Linked DNA regions of Homo sapiens: region 2 is linked to region 1. Evidence: promoter capture Hi-C in human tissues and cell types (Jung and others, 2019). All regions are on one chromosome and are shown on one strand. The core of a region is centred on a gene start or on the middle of the fragment in contact, and the rest is flanking DNA. Distances in the headings are between cores, read along the strand shown.

Evidence for each region. The method cuts DNA at HindIII sites, captures the fragments that hold promoters and counts their contacts. A contact is called where the count stands out against the background at its distance.
Region 2: a fragment that was not itself captured here is called in contact with the fragment with the promoter of AKAP6 in region 1 in 2 of the 25 tissues and cell types used here (dorsolateral prefrontal cortex and hippocampus).

What each region holds. Positions count from the first base shown.
Region 1 is chr14:32,325,840-32,333,192 of GRCh38, reverse strand. AKAP6 (A-kinase anchoring protein 6) reads right to left here and starts at 3,895. Exons shown (of 14, transcript NM_004274.5): 1 at 3,785-3,895. RefSeq lists an enhancer at 1,636-1,930. The HindIII fragment of the contact is 5,497 bases long and covers 2,913-7,353 here.
Region 2 is chr14:31,565,921-31,573,273 of GRCh38, reverse strand. All of the region lies in intron 3 of NUBPL (NUBP iron-sulfur cluster assembly factor, mitochondrial), which reads right to left. Among named protein-coding and RNA genes, the nearest start is that of NUBPL, 8.2 kb to the right of the region's middle. The HindIII fragment of the contact is 5,279 bases long and covers 1,097-6,375 here.

The DNA of each region.
Region 1 (7,353 bases), core at 2,646-5,145:
CTTTGATGCTTTCTGATCAGCCTCTCATTCCTGTACCTCATGCAGACACAAGCTTGGGCCTCTTTGGAGCAGGTTAGGACAAAGGTTAACTTCTTCCTGGAACCTAGAAAAGGCTAATGAGCCCTGTGGAATAATATTTCTAAGTATTCACCATACAGGAATCAATATCAACATGCTGTCAGTGTGTGCATTAGCCCCACACTCAAACAAAGAACAGCCCTTAGAGCCCAATAATGACGCTGGGCGTGGATAGCTGGGGATGAGCAAGATGATACAGAAATGACTATATCAGCTCTCCTCAAACACAAGGCTTCCAGGTTATTACACAAGACTGTCATTCTTGTACTTTGTCAGAGATAGACAGAGTTTGGTTTCAGCCACTGATACATTCAGCAAAATAAATCCTCTATCTTCTTAACCTAAGAGATAGATTCAGATTACACTTTCCAGACTGTGAGAGAAGTTTCTGCTTCTGTTCTCAACACCAGGTTGAGAACAGAACCTGGTGCAACAGCAGGGAATACAAACATCTTAAAGTTAACAAAGCACCACAAATATAGCTGATAAGACAGGTTTATAACAAAGCTGAATCATTACTGACTCAGGTAAGACCTGCTTTGAGTGCAACTCCATCATGCCCACAATTATTGATGTAACATTTTCCATACAGAGATCCTGCTAGAAAGTTATATCAAGCAAGGGCAGTGGCAAAAGTCTAAGCATCAACTCTTCATTACTTAAATCTCTGGGTACAAAGTAAATATTCACATCTGATCAAGATTCATGCTCATCCTTACAGTGAAATCAACCTTAGTGTTGCAAATGACATTTCATTCTACATATGAAATCTGATTTTCCAATTAGAATGAGGAGGGGTGGGGTACGTGTGATAGAGTATAGATGACTGATCTGTATGGTATATACAGTAAAGATGTCATAAAACTGAGATGGCCGTGGGTAAGCATGTGTGCTGCATAGCCAGATCGCAATGGTTTGGAATCCTGGCCCAATCACTTATTAACTACATAACCTTAGCCAAGTTTATTCGCCTGGCTAAGGACTGGTTTTTGCAAAATGTGAATAATAACACCTAATCCTATAAAGTGAGATTATTACTCTCTACTTCATAATAATAATAAGGGCTAAATAAGATATACACAAAACTTAATTCAGTACTGATACACAGTAAGAACTGAATAAATGATAGCTATGATTGTTATTATGATTATTATTTTTATCATCCCTATGCGGCCTAGTTATCGGCAAAGAATTAACTTCTTTGTAACTTTGTAATGTATTTGTGAAAGCCATGACCAAAAGTATAGAGGACATTAACTTCTTGTGAGGCTTCCATGGCCTAAACTCTGTCCAATAAACATGGTCTTGATGATCTATCATTACTGTGAAACAAAATTCCTTAAACTGTAGAAAGTTTCAGTGAGGCACCAATAAATACAGCCATAGAGAAATCTCTCCCTTCCCCTATACACACACACACACCATCTACCCCTTGGGGATATATTAAAACTAAGACAACTGAAATAGCCTTAGCCAGTAATTAAGACATGCAGCTAATCAGAGAGCAGCGCAGGCTGTGGCCCTCTACAAAGAAACGAAGAAACAAAACATTAGGATGATAGCTCTCATTACCAGGGCTTTGTTCTCCTGGAGCAAAAAGAGCACAAAAGCATAAAGTTGGAGAACTGTAATTGCATTTTGAACATTTGCGGGGGGAAAAATTACAGGGTTGTCTGAACCGGGAGGATGTTCCACTAGATAACTGCGTCAGTCCACACCCACCAGCGCCCTTCCCCACCCTCAAAGCATGACTCCACTTTTTCTAACACTGCCCTTAAGGAATCTAGCTTTTGTGACTTCCAGTAATTGAACAAATCAACCATGATGAAGCAGCTGAAGAGCACTTTAAACAAAAGAGACAAGAATTAAGCAAACAGAAAACTCATTACAATGCTGCCTTTTGCTTTTTTTTACTCCTAGAAATTCATGTTACCAAACAAGTCTTTCTTCATTGCTCTTCTTCAGAAATAATACTTTAAGAAAATTCTAAAAGGCACTAAGTGATTTTATCCAGATTTATAATCTAGCTACAAGACATACTTTCCCTTCCCCCATCACCATCTAGCACTCTTCCCTGTCACCTTAGAGCTTTCGACTTAGATGTGTTCACACCCAGCAGTCCCAGCAGAGCTTTCTGCTCACATTATATGACATAAAAAAGCAGGCAATGAACAATTCATGCTTCTAAGTGCTTGCGATAAAGCCAGGCTGAGCTGACCTCTCCCATCCTATACAGCTGCATGTCAGAAACATAAGCTTAAAGGACTGAGAGTAGCAAGCATGTGCGTGATGTGGTATAAACAAACAAATTAAAACCTGAGGCCTTTCCTCTGGCTGGTGCCTAATGGGACTAGCATACTTAACTCTGTGCAAAAAAAAAAAAAAAAAAAAAAAAAAAAAATCACTCCAAGCTAGCTAAAGGTATTGCTTTTCCTGCTTTCCATGATATATCTCTTTAGCCCCAATAAACAGACTAAAAGAAGAGGAATTCAATGGTTGCCATTCTTTCGTGTAAGACTTTTTGAGTAAAAACTATCAATTTGGCAGCATTAAGCCACAAGACCACTCCCTGATTCTAAGTGGACATATTGATCAATTGAACTGACATGTGCCTCCTCCTTTCTCTCCCCTAGTAGCAATCAGCTGTACCAGGGAAATCCATTTCATTTCCCAAAACAAAAGGCAACATTCTGCTCCTTATCTGACACTGTCAGACTAATTTTTTAGAAAATAATAATAATAATAAAGATGCCTAAAAACAGAGCTAGGAGTTGAAATGAAAATGATACGTGTTTAGAGTTTTGGAATTGAGTTGAGGTTATGACTGAGTCCAGAGGTCTGTAATCCCTACAACCACTGAGGACCCTGATATTTATTCATCATACCCAGATTTTTGTTAAAGTTAAGCAAGGGATGGCAACACCACTGCCACTTCAGAGGCTCTCCCAGGGTTACCCTTCACTGCAACTGCCGCAGAGAGGAGACTTGTTCCTTTCTCAGTTACAAGTCAGCCTGCAAACAACTCCAGCTATTTCAGAGACTAGCTAGAGATGGAAAAATATGTGGCAGTCTTTCAACTAACTCTGAAGGACATGGGTTGAAGAACTACCATATAGATCAAAAGGCTCAAATAATTTCATTTGGTTTAGGTTTTTATGCTTTTAATAAATTCTGTCTTGAATATGCAAGAGATCCCCTTTCACATCAGGGTTATGTCAAATGCTTATTCAGCATTTGTTCCTTGCCATGAAGAAACTGAAACCCAACCGAGGTAAATAATGAATTTCATACTGCAAATCACTGAATATTTCATAATTCACAAGAGCAAAGAGGGGGCCAATTAGCTCTGCCTCCCAAAAAGAAATCTATATTTTTACAATGCTTAAATACTGTTAACTACTCATTTTAAAGCTTATCTGGGGTTTTGCAATTGAAAAATCATCTTATGTTTATGAAAAATTCTGTAAGAACACTTAAAAATAACAGACAGAGCTGGAGCAAGAATAATTCTACATATTTTAATTCCTATATGACTCTTACAGGCCTTTGTCTTAACCCGGCAGCCTGAAAAACGATTTAGGTAAAACAGCCCTTCTTTCCCCAGTCCATTTTAAGCAGAGACAACATCCCCCAATCTCCGCCTTAGCAGACACCGACTAACCAACAAAACAGCCGTGCAATTAAGGCCCAGACATTTAACACTCACCATCTCCTGATCCCACCGTCTTCTTTTGATGTTTACAGCACATCTGTAGGATGCAATACTAGGAGATGCCTTGTTTGACCTGCTGCATGATGCTGTGACATCAGTTCAGATGATGCAGCTCATTATGGGAAAGACTGCTGTTGCTATGGCAACTGGGATGTGCTAGGAATCCTTGCTGCATTTCCAGTGGAGCCTGAGACAATACGGAAGCCCTGTAAGAAACAGACGATATGCAAAATTTAGACCAAAGGAAGAGGATTCCTCATTGGACTAAAATCCATAGGTTTAAAAGGGATTTCCCTGAAAGCATTTTGGAAAAAACAAAAATTATCTCCCCCTTTGTTGTTATACATTTAGAAAAAAAAGGTGGGAGGAGAAAATAGAATTAGTACTAAGCAAATAAAAACTGAAATGTACAATGTTTCCTTATTAGACAATTTGATCACTTTTTCCTCCCTGGTCAGCACTGGGATAGCTTTTTAAAAGTTATTAAAAAGAATTTTTGCTCATCTGTCAAAGACCAAAAGAACAAAACAGCGAGCACAAAAATAATTAAAAATGGAATATAAACAGCTGACCAAATGACTCTAACTCTCAAGTAAACAAGTTTTAATTCTCAAAACATGGGCAAACCCTTGGCCAATGAAGTCTGTCCTGGTTATTTTCCCTGATGAACACCAACCCACAGAACCTTCCCATGCAGAATAAACCCAGCTTTCACCTGGTCATCAGATAGGCAGCAAAGGGAAGTTTGGAATCTAGAGGGGCACAACACACCACCCTCAACTTCTACTGACCCTTCCTTTGGCCTGCAGGGAACCCCTCCTTCTCATGGCCAAAACGCATGTGAGTCTTTTCTGGGATCAAACCTAGTGGTTGGAACAAGTAGCAGACCTGCTAGAAACTTCCTAAATCGTTGGCATTCCAAACATTGGGGTCTGTTTTCTTCTTTTCTGAACAATAAAACTGCCTACCACACAGATTATTTGTGCCCCTCCCCAACCCCAAAAGCTGGAACTGTGTGAAAAGCCACATTTAAACAAGACACGGTAAGGCATTTCTCCAGTTGGTAAAAGAAAAGCAAATCTAAAGCAATCACTTCTTTCCAGTCCTGAGCAGAAATCAACGTCATGTGGTGAGAACTGGGGAGAAGGAGATATGGACAGAGCAGCCTATGTTTTGCATATTTAATATTTGCAGGCCATTGATAGAGAAAAGCAGAATCAAGTTGACCTGTATCCACTCCGTCTTCACAACTCTGAAAAAGAACAACATTCCAAAAGCTTAAAACATGAGACAATTATGTTGTCTCCTCCTGCTTGAGATTTTAAAATGGCACTGTTAACCACCAGCATAGGCGGTGTGGGATGAGTGGCAGAAGGAATTCAGGCAGTGTCTCTGTAAACAGGAGCTAATAAAATGCCTGAGAAGTGCCAATATCCCAGCAGCGTGCACCATCAGCCTCGCACAGAGCAACCCTGCCCTAGATGGGAAGACAGACTTGTTCTTGCTTCATCTAGAGAGGAATTAAGAGACCAAAAGCAGGAGGTGAATCTGCCTGCTTAGGTCCTTTGTGGCATCAGCAGAGCCTGACTCCCTCCCTTTATCTTAGACCTCAGACCACATGCCACACACAAGGGGAGAAGTAGCAGGCAGCTACCCCAGTACAAAGAGTACAGATCTGAGAGTCAGGAAACCCAACTGTAAATGTCAGGTCCTCCTAGAGCATCTGTGTGATATCAGGCCAATTGATTAACTTCTTGGGGCCTCAAGTTTTTCATCTGCAGAGATGATTGATTTAGCTAATAACCATAGTTTTCAGGTTTTTCATTAGTAATATAACCTTTCTTTTAATGATACAGATCAAAGCTGGACTGCCTTGGTTGAGGCAAGATAAGAAGCCCAGAGCCCAGACTGATGAGCCATTCTCAACCACTGCCTCCAACCTCATTTGCTGTAAGCTGACTCTTTAAGATACCTCTGAAGAACCCTTCAGTCTCTGGAGAAGATAAAGAGACATGGACCTATTACAGAACAAGATTAGTCTTTCCAGAGCTGAAATCCACATGCTATAAAGAGGAGAGGACAGGGTGGGAGCAGGTGTTCCAGATTTGAATATGGCTTCTCAAGATGGTAAGAATCTTGTTAATCTTTTTTGCCAGAAGCAAGTCAATCATTTGATGGGAAGAAATGGATGGCTCATCAAACCTGAGGCCAGGTCAAACTTTTAGCAACCTGGACTAGCTAAATTGCTTGCCCACAAAATGGCACTCACCAATGAAACGGAAGTAGAAGTGGAAACCATCAACTCCAAAGGTGGCTAAGACCAAGTGTCTCTTCTTCATGTTTTCCTGTCCTGCTAGCTGGATGCAAAGAATCCAGTGGAACTCTGAAGCCCAGAAAGATAATGGCCACACATTGTGGATGGAGCCTGGGTCCCTGAATGACTGCATGGAGCTCAACCATCCTCTCCCAACTACCTATTGACCTACACTGGGCTGCAATGAGTGAGAAACAAACACCACCAAGATTTTGGGGTAGTTTATTCTGAACAAATTATCCATTTATAGATAAAATTATAATTTAATAAAATATAAATTTTCTAACAAGATTATATTATATATCATTATTTATGATAAAGTGACAGTGTTAAAAACATGTTCCTTTATTGCAGACTTTCTTTTTTTATTTTATATTACTTTAAGTCCTGGGATACATGTGCAGAACATGCAGGTTTGTTACATAGGTATACATGTGCCATGGTGGTTTGCTGCACCTATCAACCCATCATCTAGGCTGTAAGCCCTGCATGAATTCGCTATTTGTCCTAATGCTCTCCCTCACCTTGCCCACAACCCCCCGAAGGGCCCTGGTGTATGGTGTTCCCCTCCCTGTGTCCATGTGGTCTCATTGTTCAAATCCCATTTATGAGTGATAACATGCAGTGTTTGATTTCCTGTTCCTGTGTTAGTCTGATGAGAATGATGGCTTCCAGCTTCATTCTTTTTTATGGCTGCATAGTATTCCATGGTGTACATGTGCAACATTTTCTTTATCCAGACTATCATCGATGGGCATTTGGGTTGGTTCCAAGTCTTTGCTATTGTAAATAGTGCTGCAATAAACATACATGTGCATGTGTCTTTATAGTAGAATGATTTATAATCCTTTGGGTATATACCCAGTAATGGGATTGCTAGGTCAAATACTATTTCTGGTTCTAGATCCTTGAGGAATCGCCACACTGTCTTCCACAATGGTTGAACTAATCTACACTCCCCAAAACAATGTAAAAGCGTTCCTATTTCTCCACAGGCTCTCCAGCATGTGTTGTTTCCTGACTTTTTAATAATTGCCATTCTAACTGGCGTGAGGTGGTATCTCATTGTGGTTTTGATTTGCACTTCTCTAATGACCAGTGATGATGAGCTTTTCTTTCATATGTTTTTTGGCCACATAAATGTCTTCTTTTGAGAAGTGTCTGTTCATATCCTTTGCCCACTTTTTGATGAGGTTGTTTTATTCTTGTAAATTTGTTTAAGTCCCTTATAGATTCTGGATATTAGACC
Region 2 (7,353 bases), core at 2,487-4,986, 760 kb after region 1:
CCCCATAACAACATTTCAGTCAACAATGGACTGCATATACAACGGTGGTGACATAAGATTATAATGGAGCTAAAAGATTCCCATTGCCTAGTGACAGCACAGCCATCATAACATCACAGCACAACACATGATTCACGTGTTTATGGTGATGTTGGTGTAAACAAACCTACTGTGCTACTTGTACAAAAGTGTACATTAATGCCCTAGGCCTTCACATTCACTCACCACTCACTGACTCACCCAGAACAACTATCAGTCCTGCAAGCTCTAATCATGGTAAGTGCCCTATGCAGGGGTACCATTTTGTATCTTTTATACTATATTTTTACTGTATCTTTTCTTTGTTTAGATACATAAATACTTACCATTGTGTTACAAACGTCTACAGTATTCAGTACAGTAACATGCTATACAGGTTTGTAGCCTAGGACAAATAGGTTATACCATATAGCTTAGGTGTACAGTAGGCTATACTATCTAGCTTTGTTTAAGTACACTCTACGCAGTTCATACAAAAATGAAGTCGCCTAATGATGCATTTCTGAGAAGGTACCCCCATCATAAAGTAAAGCATGACCATACGTCATCTTTTAAGAAGCAGGAAAAGAACAGTGTGTAGGCCACTAAGTCGCAACAAACACCTCCATCCCATACCACTTCTCACAAAAAATAAAGTAAAACGAAACTTTACACTTAATACTTTCAAATCTGCCTGTACAATCATACGTATAGCAAACATTTACCATGTATTTTCTAAGTCATAAGGCATTGCGCTAGCTGCTGAGGGTAGCCAAGAATAAAGACAACCTAGTTCTTAATCATAAGAATCTAGCTAGGCCAGGCACAGTGGCTCACGCCGGTAATCCCAGAACTTTGGGAGGCCGAAGCAGGCGGATCATGAGGTCAGGAGATCAAGACCATCCTGGCTAACACAGTGAAACCCTGTCTCTACTAAAAATACAAAAAATTAGATGGGTGTGGTGGCGGGTACCTGTAGTCCCAGCTACTCGGGAGGCTGAGGCAGGGGAATGGTGTGAACCCGGGAGGCGGAGATTGCAGTGAGCCAAGATTGCACCACTGTACTCCAGCCTGGGTGACACAGCAAGACTCCATCACAAAAAAAATTAAAAAAAAAAAGAATCTAGCTAAAATAGGAGCAATACACCAAGTACGTTAAGAGCACAGGATCTAGGTTGGCATTCGAACCTTAGCTCTGCCATTTACTTTCTGGGTGACTTGAGGCAAATTACTTAACCTATAGGTGTTTCTGCTTCCTCAACTACAGTGGGGATCACAATAGTACTTATTCCCATAACGTTGCTGTGAAGAGTAAATGAACTAAGAACCATGTCATGAAGATTAAAATAGTCCATGGAAAGCACATATAACAGTGCTTGACACATAATGAATGCTCCATGAAAGTTAGTTATTTCCTATTATAAAACTTATCAGAATGGCTGCATGAGTGCAATAATAATACAAATCAACAGTGTTACTGGATTTCAAAAGATGAAGAAAGGGCCAGGCCAGGCACAGTGGCTCACGCCTGTAATCCCAGCACTTTGGGAGGCCGAGGTGGGCAGATCACCTGAGGTCAGGAGTTCGAGACCAGCCTGGCCAACATGATGAAACCCCGTCTCTACAAAAAATTCAAAAATTAGCCAGGCATGGTGGTGCTTGCCTGTAATCCCAGCTACTTGGGAGGCTGAGGCAGGAGAATCACTTGAACCCAGGAGGCAGAGGTTGCAGTGAGCCGAGATCATGCCACTGCACTCCAGCCTGGGCAACAGAGTGAGAAAAAAAAAAAAAGAAGAAGACACTCACTTGGCAGGAATTCAGGGAACACTTCAATGAGCTGCTGAGCTGCCCTTCTGAGCAAGGCTAGCTCACACAGTGCCTTTGTGTGAATTACAAAGCAGCCCATGGGTGCACATCTTTTTTTTTTTTTTGACAGATCATAAACAACAGAACAAGAGGTGCACATCAAGAGGAGGGTAGCCTGAATTTCTATCATCACTCAATCCCCTCAACAAGCATCCTTGTGCAGGATATAACCAGCACAGCCATATAAGGAAGCCTGAAAGATAGGACACATAAAGCTGGTGAAAGGTAACACAAACATTCCAGTAGACAAGTAGAAGAATAACTGTAAGCTATCAAGAATAGTATATCCAGCCTAGACTGGCTTTGGCAAGTAACCCAGATTAGCTAGAGCATAGAAGCCATTTAGAAGAATAGCTAAAGATAAACCCAGAAAGGTAGATTGAAGCCAGATGGCAGAGGATATTGAATATCAGCAAAAGCATCCAGCTATGACTCTGAGCAAGGGAGTATGTGATTTCAATAGTGAGAGAAGTCTGGCATCATGTACTGGAAGGATTTAACTAAGTACGGGCAGGTAAAAGGTCATTGCAGTGGGATGCTAGTCTATGAGTTCCTCAAAGGCAGGGATTCTGTGTCTCATTCATTTTTGTATCTTCAGAACTAACACAGCACTTGGGACAGAGTAGGCACTCTATAATTGTTTGAGGTATAAATGAATGAATGACCCAAAAGTAGCACGTGCCTTAATTAAAATAGGAACAGTGGAAATAGAACAATGGGAACATACTGGAAAAATATTGTAGAGATAGGAAAAGGGATATTTGCTTGCTGATGAAATGTGGCAAGGATATTAGGGGAGAATCAATAAAGACTGTAAAACTGATAAATACTATGTGGATTGCATTACAGGTTTCTGTGAGAATCAAATATAATTATGTTCATGAAAATGCTCTACTTAAAACAATACTGCTTTACTCTGGAATAAAAGCTACTCATCTTGGGCAGATTTACTACTATATTTGACACTGAATATATCTCATCATTTTAAAACATTTGTCTTCCTTTTGTCCTTATCAGATTATAAAACCTTTAAGAGTACACTGGTGTCTACTCTGTTATGAAGCAATATTAATAAAACCTTATTAAATGTTGCTTTAATTAAACTTTCTCACAAAAGAAACTATTAAACCAATTTCAACTATATACCAAAAAAATATAGACACATAAACACAGACATACACTTATATAAATATACAACATATTTATATAGACTAAACATTTGTGAATGTAATCTTAGCAGGCTATAAGCTTCCACAGTATATGTTTATTCTTCTTTACTTTCTGCCGGTGTCTGGCAATGAGTGTTAGAGGTGCTCAATAAATGTTTGCTGAACTAAAATGAACTGAAATGAACTGACTTAGGAATCTCACAGAGCTTATCAATGGTTTCTGATGGTCTTTAAGTTTCCCTCTCCCAGTCTCAGTGCTCTTCCAAACTGTGCATCAAATTTTTGCCGTAAAAGAATGAGATCCATAATAAGGATGTTTTTAAGAAAGAGAAAAAAGAAAAATCAAAAAATAAGATTGTCAATATATAAGATCAGTGGGTACCATTAAGGTCTAACAACTGGCTTGGGGTAGTGGGCTTGATTTTCAGTGTTTGCCAATTTCCATGGTTTAAATATTCCCATCATGGGCCTATTTCAAGCTAACAACATGATACGAGTTGGTCTGCAAAATTCACCGAAAATTTAACAATCAGCTGTCACAAGCCAGTATGCACTGGCTCAGGCACACCATGGGTTGCAATATTTATATGCATAGTACACATGATCCCCAAATTTTGCTCTGCAATACTACCCATCCACATCCTCAAAGGAAAGTATAAAAGGCAAGGAAAAAGCAGGAAAAATCTACACCCTATTCCTATAATGCTTTTAAAACCTCAATGCAGGCCAGGCATGGTGGCTCACACCTGTAACTCCAGCACTTTGGGAGGCAGAAGTGGGTGGATCACTTGAGGTCAGGAGTTTCAGACCAGCCTGACCAATATGGTGAAACCCCATCTCTATTAAAAATACAAAAATTAGCTGGGTGTTGTGGCGGGCACCTGTAATCCCAGCTGCTCAGGAGGATGAGGCATGAGAATCACTTGAACCCGGGAGGCGGAGGTTGCAGTGAGCTGAGATCACACCACTGCACTCCAGCCTGGGCAACAGATCGAGATCTTAAAAAACAAAAACAAAAACAAAAACAAAAAAAACTCAATCTACAAGGTAGAGGTAGTCTTCTTTTGAACTAGGCATATGGTCCAGCCCAGAAATTCCTTTAGCCTAGACCAGTGACATTCAAACTTTTCTGATCATGTACCCCAATCAGTTTTTTAAAAGGTATTTGGGCATACATCCTCAATATGTTAATATATTTGTTTATACATTATATTAGAGCTACTATACTAATACCATATATAAGGTATATACAAACAAATATTAAAATAAAAATTAATTCAAATAGAAAAGAAAAATGTTCTGCCCACATCCCAATGGACTGTCTTGCAAATCTCCCCAGGGCTTACGCAATCCACTTCAGATATTACTAAGTACAACATGAAAAGTAAAATGAATTGCTTCCTGGACCTGTTTCCCCTAGGCCTACAACCTTATCTTATTAGATCTTGCCACTCCATGAAATATCTTGCTTTTATTATTATTTTCACATCACTCTAGTATATCAACTTTGGAAACAAAAGACATCATTCTATTTATAGCATTCTATTTTTAGTAGCAGCATTTCAATTTACAAAATATAGTAATTCTCAATCACTGAAAATGTCAAATCCTAGAAAACGTAGCATTCCTGAGTGTGATGGTAATATCATCCTCAAACAGTTGTTGGCCGAAGATTCATTTGATGAATCCAATTTTTCTGAAATAGACAATTCTGATGATTCAGAGAATTCTAATGTTAGTTCTGTTTAGAAATAACTCCAAGAAGAGTTTTTATATTTTATTTTCACATTGAAAATCAGTCAGATTTGGTTCAGCCTCGAAGGGCGTGTTTATGTAAAGTTAAATAAGTGCTGGCAGCGAGCTGCACTTTTTTTTTCTAAACAGGAAATGAGTTAACTGTTTTTTTCATCCTTGGATCCCTTATTACATAGTTACTTCACATTATCTATAAGACTCAAAGCTTTGGCTGCAATGATAACCAAATTAAAAGAGGTCCACACCTACAAATTTATCTACCTTCCCATCCATTGAATTTTCCGTTTCCTTCCTTAAGGAAGACAGGGTCCTTTTTCTAGGGTAACTAAGTGCTGTCATTAAAATCACTAGGAAAAAAACCATATTACTGGCTCTTATCTCAATACGGTTGCCTAAACATATATGTTTATCTCCCTTCTCTTCCAAATTCCATTGAAATGACAAGGAAACAAAATAGTCTAAAACTAAATAAAACCATAACCACACTAGAAAACAAAAGAGGGTGACATTAGCAGGTTAGAAGTGGAAAATTCTAGATCCATGGTTCTTAACTTTGGCATGCATCAAAATCGCCTAGAGGGTTGGTTAAAACACAGATTGCAGATCTCTATCCCCAGGGTTTCTGATTCAGTAAGCCTAGGGTGGGGCTCAAGATTTTACATGTCTAACAAGTTCCCAGGTAAAGCTGATTCTGCTGGTCAACAGCCACATTACAAGAACCATCCTAAGTAAGCAGAGGTCACTAAGAAAAACACTTTTTATTAATTTCAATTAGCATCCTCGGAGAGATTCAAGAGAATGGTACAACCTTTTTTTTGGAACAGCAAGTGGAAAATAAGAAATAGTTCTGGAAAAATTGGAAAAAAAAATAATTTCCAAATGAAAAACAAAATCAGAAGAACCTAATAACAACTAAAGTCCAATACAGCAATGTGAAAAATAGTCAAAGACATCTTTCAAAACACAGAGCAAAAGACAAAGAGATCAAAATATGACAGAAAAATTAACAAGCATAAAGGTCAGTATCTACCTAACAGGTTTCTGGAGACAGAACAAACACATCACAAAACATAATCAATGAGCAGAAGAAATTTTTCCTATGCTGAAAAATACTCAAAGCTTGATACTGCAGGGCCAAATCCCACGCAGGTTAAGCCAATAACTAGACGCATGTTTGTGGCACTTTTAAATGTAAAAGACATAAAGAAAACCTAAACTCTTTGAGAGGGAAAACACTGGTTATTACAAAAGAACATGAATCAGACTATCATCAGACATTTCATTAGCATGCTAGAAAAAAACGGTATGTTGTTTTCAAAGTTCAGAGAGGAAATTATTTTGAACCTGGAATTTTATAGTTAACTAGAATCTAGTTAAGCTATCAAATAACGAATATAAATTAAAGACACTTTTGGAAATTAAAGAAATAAGCAAATTTACTTCCTATATGTATTAGTTTCCTACTTCTATAAAATATTATCACAGAAGTCCAAAGAGATCTCAATGAGCTAAAATTAAGGTGTTGGCAGAATTACGTACCTTCTGGAAGCTTTAGGGAAAAATCAATTTCTTTGCCTTTTCAAGCTTCTGGAAGCTGACTACATTCCTTGACTAGTGGTCCCCTTCTGTCTTCAAGGCCAGCAATGGTGGATTGAATCCTTCTCTTATCAAGTCACTCTGACTCGGACCTACCTCCATCTTTCATTTATAAGGATCTTCAATTGGACCTAGCCAGATAATCCAGGATAATCTTCCCATCTCAAGATCTTTAATTTTGCTGGTGTTAGTCACACCAGCAAAGTTCCTTTTGGCAGGAAAAGTAACATATTTACAGGTTCCAGGAATTAGGATGTGGACACTTTTGGCAGGCCACTGTTCTGCCTACCAAACCATATAAGGACTCAAGGGTGTCCTTCAGAAAAACAAAAAAAAGAATTCAAGAAAGAGGATAAGATGGGATACATGAAAGTAGGTCCCCCATAAAAGGAAGCAAGTTGAAAAAAAATTTTTTAAGAAAAAATTTTGTCTTGATATTTGAATCTTCTCTTTCTAGAAGCGCAACTTTAGAGAAACTTAATTACATTTTCTTCCCTAAAAGTCCTTTTATGCTACCTGTTTCTATGGTGAATAAAATTTACATAACCAAAATATTATAAATCTTGTTTATTAGTTTCCAATTTTCAGAAATATACAGCCAAGCATCAGAAGACATGAATATCTATGTCTAGTTCCAGGATCTGGCAGATTCTGGACTCCATATACTGATAACATACTTACAGAGATACCACATATTATTTTTTCATATGTGCTATTTATTAGGAACTGAAGTTACATAGTACGGGTAGAAAATAAGTTAGAAGTATAGCCACAGTTAAACATATTAAATGATTCTTGCCTGTATTCTATAAAATAGGTATGAAGCAGAAATTAAAATCAATTCTGAAATACGTGTGTGCCTTTTCATTTAGTAGCTGATAATTTATGGAGTTGCAAATAAGTTGAATGTTATTTTTTTTAATATCTAAAAAGATAACATCCAACAATA